Linked DNA regions of Homo sapiens: all the other regions are linked to region 3. The links are contacts of gene promoters, found by promoter capture Hi-C in blood cells and fetal thymus (Javierre and others, 2016). All regions are on one chromosome and are shown on one strand. Each heading gives the region's core, a stretch centred on a gene start or on the middle of the fragment in contact. The rest is flanking DNA. Distances are from core to core; before and after follow the strand shown. Region 1 holds the start of SEC22A (SEC22 homolog A, vesicle trafficking protein). Region 2 overlaps MYLK-AS1 (MYLK antisense RNA 1). Region 3 holds the start of IQCB1 (IQ motif containing B1).

Evidence for each region. The method cuts DNA at HindIII sites, captures the fragments that hold promoters and counts their contacts. A CHiCAGO score of 5 or more calls a contact.
Region 1: a contact is called between the fragment with the promoter of SEC22A here and the fragment with the promoter of IQCB1 in region 3, in 5 of 17 cell types (total CD4 T cells, non-activated CD4 T cells, naive CD8 T cells and 2 more). The highest score is 7.5, in total CD4 T cells.
Region 2: a contact is called between a fragment that was not itself captured here and the fragment with the promoter of IQCB1 in region 3, in 1 of 17 cell types (naive CD4 T cells). The highest score is 6.6, in naive CD4 T cells.

The regions. Positions count from the first base shown.
Region 1 is chr3:123,200,514-123,203,213 of GRCh38, reverse strand. SEC22A (SEC22 homolog A, vesicle trafficking protein) reads right to left here and starts at 1,271. Exons shown (of 7, transcript NM_012430.5): 1 at 1,228-1,271. RefSeq lists enhancers at 1,185-1,234, 1,475-1,554, 1,565-1,714. The HindIII fragment of the contact is 4,922 bases long and covers 1-2,700 here.
Region 2 is chr3:123,588,680-123,591,379 of GRCh38, reverse strand. All of the region lies in intron 2 of MYLK-AS1 (MYLK antisense RNA 1), which reads right to left. Among named protein-coding and RNA genes, the nearest start is that of MYLK-AS1, 4.5 kb to the right of the region's middle. RefSeq lists a silencer at 352-552. The HindIII fragment of the contact is 1,187 bases long and covers 668-1,854 here.
Region 3 is chr3:121,833,772-121,836,685 of GRCh38, reverse strand. IQCB1 (IQ motif containing B1) reads left to right here and starts at 1,626. Exons shown (of 15, transcript NM_001023570.4): 1 at 1,626-1,720; 2 at 2,207-2,295. EAF2 (ELL associated factor 2) reads right to left here and starts at 1,477. Exons shown (of 6, transcript NM_018456.6): 1 at 1,295-1,477. The coding sequence starts at 1,400. The HindIII fragment of the contact is 9,498 bases long and covers 1-2,914 here.

The DNA.
Region 1 (2,700 bases), core at 22-2,521, 1.4 Mb before region 3:
AACTCAGGCCCAATTCTAACAACTCTGTGAGACACTCAAGGAAGGTCACAGGCACCCCTGTGATAAGACCTAGGCCTCTTTCATATACCAACATAAGATATACTTCGATTTTAACCAGTTGCACGCAAAAAAAAAAAAAAAAAAAAAAAAAAAAAAAAAAGGCACTAAACAGATGTGATGGTTTTCAACATAGGAAATACCCGAATGTCCCATTACTTTAGGATATGGTCACAGGTGTCAGAGTCAAATACTGAATGAACCTTAATATATCAGAAATTGTAGGTACCGTTTAAGGCATTGCCTGATTCCTTACAATCTTAGCATGTAAGCAAATATCAGTAACATGGAAAGTGATTCAGAGTTTGAAAAGTGGCTGTTCCCCTGACTGAAGATCCCAACATCTCCAGTCTGGTGGCTGATACTTTTGCTCTGGGCTAGGCTTTGCCTTGGCTGAATAGGCATAGGAGGGACTGGTTCTCAAGCTCGCCCCCTGCCCCAGGTGGATGATCCAGGAAACTAAGCAGCAGGGAAAAATTATCTTAAGCTGTCTTCACTGGCAGAGAGATTCAAGCCAGCTGGGGCTTGTCCTTTTCTTTTGGAAGCCTCCTCCACTTGCCGAGCCAATTGCTCAGGTCTCCCTTCTGCCACATCGTTCCCAAAGTGACTCTTGAGACAGGGTCTCAAGAGATTTCCGTGAGCCAACGCGGGCAAATATCTGGGCTCAGGGCTCACTCCATCCCCACAAAACGTAAAGTAAGACACTGGTTCAAGTCCCATTCTGCCTAAAAGAAATAGGAAATGCCACCTCAAGCTCTCATGGGCCACCTACACAGGTAGATCACCGTGTTTCTGACACCTGGGCGCCAGGGAATCCCCACCACCATGCTGACAGCCAAGTGCGACTGTCCCTCCCCTTCAAACACTCCTTTCCTGGCTGCCCAACACCCGAGGCGGCTCAGACGAGGCGCAACCGCCGCCCGCCTGGCCCCAGAGAACCCTCAAGTCGAAGGGGACGGGGTCCCCGCTTGCCCGTCCCTCCAGAGCTCCGCGGCCCCGACTCCCATCCCAAAGGCACGGACTTGGCTCCTGCCCGTGGGGTAGGTCTTCAATCCCGAGGGCGAAGGCCGAGGCTGTGGCGAGAGGCAGGGAGCGGGAGGGGAGAGGCCGGCAGGGATTCGAACGACCCCTAAGAAAGGAAGAAGAGGACTGGGAGGGGCCGGGGAGTACCTGTCGAGACGGGACCCGCCGCTCCGAGTGACGCGCCCCGAAGTGCATTGTGGGGCCTGGGAGGGACCTTTCGGCGACGCTGCGGCGCGTCCAACGTGGCTCGCGCCCGCGGAATCAAACCACGCCCCCGTTCCCTCAGCTCACCCAGGCCAATCGGGTTCTGCAGGAAGGACACAACAACCCCCCAGCTCCCGGGGCCCTCCTTAGTCCCACCCGCTCCAGGAGAGATTGGCAGCTTCTCTCGCACCTGCGCCAGAAAAGTACAGCATCCTCTGATGACAGAACTACGTTGACTTCAGAAATAGGGCCAATCTCTTCCGCTCGCCGCCCTGTTTCTGCAGGCATTTTGTCTCTCACACGCGGCCCTACAGCAGACACTTATAAAGGGGACAGGGAGAAAAGCCCCCTCTGGGTGAGCAAGGAGAAGACCTGGCCCCGTCTATTCCCACACACAAGAAGGAAACTAACCATGGCAGAGAAGTGCCAGATGCTGACCCTGCGACCCCTTCCAGCCTTCGCATCGGTCATGCATTATTAAACAGGCATTTCCTGACTGTTTACCATGTGCCAAGCACCGTGTTAAGCACGGGGTTACAGGAGTGGACATAACACTTGATGGAATTTAAGGAGTAATTGGAGCAAGAGATATTAAAGCATAAATAGTTACAGAACTACAAATTGTCAGTATTGGGAGGGAAAATTAGTGGGTGCAATGATCAATTAATTTTGGACTATCAGGGAAAAGACTTCTGAATAAGTGCCTTTTAAGCGGCAGGCATATTGAAGAGCCTTAGAGAATGTTCCCCGCCAAGGAAATATTGTGTGAGGTTGTCGGGGCATGAAAGAACTTCTTGTGCTCTAGGAACTAAAAGGGAGTCAGTGTGGATGGAGTGTAGGGAGCAAGGAGAAACTTTGCCCGTTGACCTTAAGATATCTTCCAAAATACAGCCTGAAATCTGTAATGTGGCCAATAAGAGTCAGCATGGTCTGGCCCTTGTCTCATCTCAGCCCAAGGTCAATGGGCAGCTAATAAAGACTATTAAGTAGGATCCTATTTGCATATTTAAGAATCACTCAGGCTGTTTGTGGAGAATAGTGTGGAAAAGGGCAAGAAGGGCTGCTGGAAAGCCATTTGGAGGCAGTTGCGTCAGGCAAAGCCAGAAATGATGGGGCTTGAACTAGTGTAATGGGAGTTAGAGACAGAAAGAGGTAGATAATTTCAAGATATGTATAAATTAGAAATGGTATCCAAGGGACTTCATAACGGATTGGTTTGCCGGGAAGGGTCAACAAAAAGGAATATTAAGGATGACTCCTTAAGTAACTAGATGGATTAAGAAGCCATTTACTGACTCATGGAACACAGAAAGAGGAGCAAATGGTTTGGAATATGTTAAATTTGAAATGCCTATAAATGGAGATGTCAAGTAGATTTGGATATGTAGGTCTAGAGTTCAGAAGAAAGGCCTGAAC
Region 2 (2,700 bases), core at 12-2,511, 1.8 Mb before region 3:
AAAAGTTTGGAAAATTTGCAGCCTGACCATGCAGTAGAAAACAAAGACCCATTTTCCAGGGAGATATTCAAGCAGGCTGCAGGAATTTGCACAAGTAACAAGGAGCTGAATGTTAATAGCTGAGACAATGGGGAAAAATGTCTCCAGGGAATTTCAGAGATCTTCAGGACAGCCCCTCCCATCACAGACCTAGAGGCCTAGGAGGGAAAAATAGTTTCCTGGGCTAGGCAGGCCCAGGGCTCTACTGCTGTGTGCAGCCTCAAGACATGGTGCCCTGTGTCCCAGCCACTCCACCTCATGGCTAAAAGGGGCCAAGGTACAGCTTGGGCCATTGCTTCAGAGGGTACAAGCCCCAAGCCCTGGCAGCTTTTATGTGGTGTTGGGCCTGCAAGTGTGCAGAAGCCAAGAGTTGAGGTTTAGAAACCTATGCCTAGATTTCAGAGGATGTATGGAAATGACTGGATGTCCAGTCAGAAGTCTGCTGCATGGGCGGAGCCCTCATGGAGAACCCCTACTAGTGCAGTGCAAAAGGGAAATGTGGGGTTGGAGCATCCACACAGAGTCCCCACTGGGGCAATACCTAGTGGATCTGAGAATAGGGCCACTGTCCTCCAGACCCCAGAATGGTAGATCCACCAACAGCTTGCACCCTGGACCTGGAAAAGCTTCAGGCACTCAACTCCAGCCCATGAAAGCAGCCTTTGGGACTGTACCCTGCAGAGCCACATGGCAAGAGCTGCCCAAAGCCTTAGGAGCTCACCTCTTCAATCAGCATGCACTGGATGTGAGACATGGAGTCAAAGGAGAGTATTTAAGAGGTTTAATATTTAATGACTGCCCAACCAGGTTTCAGACTTGCATGGGGCCTGTGGCCCCTTTGTTTTGGCCAATTTCTCCCATGTGGAATGAGAACATTTACCCAATGCCTGTACCCCCATTGTATCTTGGAAGTAACTAACTTGTTTTTGATTTTACAGGCTTGTAGGTGAAAGAGACTTGCCTTGTCTCAGATCAGACTTTGAACTTGGACTTTTGAGTTAATGCTGAAATGAGTTAAGACTTTGGGGTACTGTTGGGAAGGTATGATTGGAATAGCATGTGCAAATTCCCTGAGGCAAAAAAGGAGTACTGCTCGATGGAAGACCTAAGATGAGGCCAGTATGACTAGGAGGGGCATGGTGAGACTGAGGAGGCAGGTAGGGTCTAGTCTATGCAGATTTTTGTATACCATATTAAATATTTTATGCTTTATCCTAAGTGTCATCAAAAGCCATTTAAATATCTTCAGGGGTGGGGCAGAGGAAGGTAGTAGACACGAACAAGGTTGTATGTGGAAAAGATCACTTTGGCTGTACTGTAGAGCAGGGGTCCCCAACCTCTGGGCCACAGACTGGTACAGGTCCATGGCCTGTTAGGAACCCAGCCACACAGCAGGAGGTGAGCAGCAGGCAAGTGAGCATTACCACCTGATCTCCACCTCCTGCCAGACCAACAGCGGCATTAGATTCTCATAGGAACACGAGCCCTATCATGAACCATGCAGGCGAGGGATCTAGGTTGCAGGCTCCATCTAATGCCTGCTGATCTGAAGTGAAACAGTTTCATCCTGAAACCATTCCCTCCCCAGTCCATGGAAAAATTGTCTTCCATGAAACCAGTCCCTGGTGCCAAAAAGGTTGGAGATTGCTGCTATAAACAACAGACTGGAGTTGGGCCTAAGTGACTGCAAGAAGATACATTGAGTTTTAAACTGATTTCCAACTGAACAGAACTTTATGCATTCCTGCCTCCTCCTACTTTCCCATTAAGTAGATTATATTGAAAAAAAAATCAGTCAAATGAATGAAAGAAGCTTTTAGATGAATGATTATTTGGTTTTGTAAAATGGTTCACTTCTTTATTTCTTTTGCAAAGAAATTTTTTTGCCCTCTGATCACAGTGTGCAATTTGGGCTCACCAACTTGCTCTTTGAAAAATTCAGGAAGGTCGGGTGTGGTGGTTCATGCCTATAATCCCAGCATTTTGGGAGGCCGAGGCAGGTGGATCACCTGAGGTCACGAGTTCGAAACCAGCCTGGCCAACATGGCAAAATCCCGTCTCTACTAAACATACAAAAATTAGCTGGGCGTGGGGGCAGGCACCTGTAATCCCAGCTACTTGGAAGGCTGAGGCAGGAGAATTGCTTGAACCTGGGAGGCGGAGGTTGCAGTGAGCCAAGAGTGTGCCATTGCACTCCAGTCTGGGGGACAAGAGCAAGACTTCGTCTCCAAAAAAAAAAAATTTCAGGAAAACAAGGCAACAGAATCTCTGAACAATCTGCCATGGCGGGAAAGGATGGGACCCTGACAATTGTCAACTTATGCCTCTCACTTCATCTCTTGAGGTCTTGAAACTTCTTTTGCAAAAATTGTAACAGTGAGAAAATTATGACTGAGAGAGATCTGATCTAACCAGCCCCCACCTTGACTCTGTAAATCAAAGAACACGATCAAGGCAAGTCTCAATCATTTTAGGAGGTTTATTTGCCATAGTAAAGGATGCATGCCAGGGAGGCAGGTATATGCCTATCTCCAAAGATGATTTTGAGGGCTTCAGTACTTAAAGGGGAAAGGGTGGATACTGGGGGAAGAGAAATTTTTTTTTTTTTTTGAGACAGAGTCTCGCTCTGTCACCAGGCTGGAGTGCAGCGGCGCAATCTCG
Region 3 (2,914 bases), core at 377-2,876:
AACTGCAGAGCCAGCACAGCACCATCTCATCGTGGGGAGCTCTGGATGAGAAAGTATATGATAAAGAAGAATAAACAAGGGACACTGTTGAAGAGTTTCTGTTCACAAATATCTCACCCATTTATTCTACCAATTGGATGTTAATTTTGCTTTAAAAAAACCCTTTTAGTAAATATATTCTTGCAGGGTTAAAACCAGTGGTTCTTCATACCTTTACTTTGAGTAACTATAACTAAATTGTCTACAACTTAAATAAACTTTTGGGAGAATGTATGCTTTAATTAGTTGTTTTGATTGAACCATGGAACATTTCAGAGTAAAAACCATAAAGGTCTCTAAACAACCCGAGAACAGAATGACTGAGAAAGGCGGAATGATGAGATATTAAGGAAGGGCAAGGCTGGGGAAAGGAAGTGAAAAAATACTTACAGTTTTACCACAGAAAAATGAGAAGTTATAATTCAGTGATCTTGAAGTTTCCTTCCCGCTCTACAATTCTATGACAGTTGTTATGCAAAAAACGAATGTCTTACACATAAAAACTTATATGCTATATTTTCCTTCCTGGAATCTATATCATCCAACTGCTAAAGCAAAAGAGCTCCTTTTTCTACTCCAACAACATAAAAGAGAATAATTTATTAAAACTAGTTCCAGAGGACATAAAGAAAACCAAAGGGTAGAAATCATAGGGAGGTAAGCATCTTCCAAATAAAGAAATTAATAACACACCCTCGAATACTTTGATAATCAGTATTTGATAACTGAGTGAAATCTGGGGTCCAAAGAGATATACAGATCATTGGGATGGTTGAGAATTTCTCCCTTTGCAAAGAACACACCAAATAAGAACCCTCATCTGCCAGAGGTGAGAAAAAGTGATGAAAAGAGAGAATATTGCCCCACCAGCCTCAAGGCATTCAAGTTCCCCGGCATTCGGTCCTTAGTCCCTTCCCATTTGTCACCTTATTATTTTCCTGTCCACCCCTGCATCATCCACCTGTCACGTCTGTCTCCACAGTCACCTCTACAGACTTTTTTCACACTTTCCCTTCCTGTCTGCTGGTCTCAACGCTCTCTGTCCAGGGTTTACCCACATTTGCTCTACTCCGATTCCTTCCACCGACCCCCTAAGACTCCGAGCAGGTTAGAGGATCGCGCTGCCTCCCCCCTCCCCGCCCCGTAGTCTCCAACAGTGTAAGGGGTACTGTGGGAACAAAACCCAGAGGGGTTTGTGCCTCTTCACCCCCATCCCGGGAGGCTCCCCCTCTATCCCCGGATGGTCCTCACTCACAGCGCACAGTGTGGAAGGCGCAGCGCGGCTGCTTCTCGAAACTCTCCCCTAACTTGAGAACCCGCTCGCGACGGTCTAGGTGTGAGAATCCCGCTGCGCTATTCATAATTACTCTCCTGCTTTGACTTTAACTCCGCCACCAGCGCTCACTATCTGCCACCTCAGCCTGAAGCAGCTGCACTTGATCCCGCCAGCCAAGTCACCCAGACTCCACCCCGCGCTCGACGCGCACCGCCCCACCGGAGCGTCTCACGTTCTGATTGGCTTATTAGCAAAGGGCGCTCCGCCCCTTGACTCCGAGGCTCCTAGTCCCGCCTCCAGGCCCCTTCCCGCGTCGCGACGCACGCTGCCCCGGAAGGCCGCGGCGCTGTAGTGCGGCGTGGGAGCCCCAGGTTCTTTAGTGGAAGAACGCGAAGCGAGGATGAGGTAACTTATCTGAGGTGGTGGCTGGGGAGGGAGAGGGCCCCAGGGCGCCTACCAGGAGGCCAGGACCCCAGGCTCCTGGACGAAGTCAGCCGGCTTGTAAGAGCTCTTAACGGGAGAATCGGCCTGCCCTCACGCCCACTCTGTAGAGATCTGGTGTGGAAACTGAGGCCTGGGGAGGTGCAGTGTCCAGGCACAGGGCCTAGTGTCTTATCCAAGGCCTGGTAGCGCGAAAGCCGGGTCTAGAATCTGGAGTAAAGGAGCCCAGAGGCCCCAGAATCTCGGTCCTTAGACTTGAAGCGACGCTGTTACCTCAGTAATCGTTTTCTGACCTTTTTGTACCAGAGGAAGTTTCTTGTGGTCCTAGGACTGGAGAAGGGGATGTGTAGTGGGGAGGAGAAAGAGGATTCGGAGATAGCAACTGCAGACATTTAGGATCAGCCGCAACAGGATCGCACTGAATTTCCTTTTCATTTATTTTCCTCACAGTGATCCGTGGAGGCAGTAACAGGCGCGGCGAGGGAGAAGTGATTCCCGAAGAATCAAGGCTGGGCCGGACCCGGTGGCCTGGCAACAGGGTAGTAGCCTTAAAATAGATAAATAATTGTCTTTTTGTGTCAAATTTCATGAATTTAATGTAAAGATGGGAGAAGTGTTGAATTATAGGAGAAACACTCGAGAAAGTTTACAGATGGTTTCCATAACAGGTGGTTTTTCAGGGTAATTACGCAATCCAACTGCACTCCCTCACCTTCTGCCTTAGGCACATTTGTCAATTGATTTTGGGGTAGGTGGTTATGTCTCCTTCAACCTGTCTGTGTAAATCCTACCCTTTGAAGGTGTGCCGAAGCTGTTTCATATCGTAGTTAAATGCTTTAAGGCAGATGGTGGCTCTAGTTTGAACCCCTGCTTTATACTTAACAGTGTGACTTTGTGCCAGCTAATTACATTCTCCAGAGTTTAAGTATGCTCATTGTTCAAATTGGGAAAAAAATAATAGTATCTGTTCCTTAGAGTTGTTGGAATGATTAAATGAGTTAATACATGAAAGCAATTAGAACAATTCCTGGAGCATGATAAGAGGTCTCCAAATGGTTATTTAAGGCCCAGCTCTACACTTATACTACATTTTAAGACCATCTTGGTGGCTGCCTTCTCTTCTAAATAGAATCATTCTAGGAGGTAGGAATTGCTATT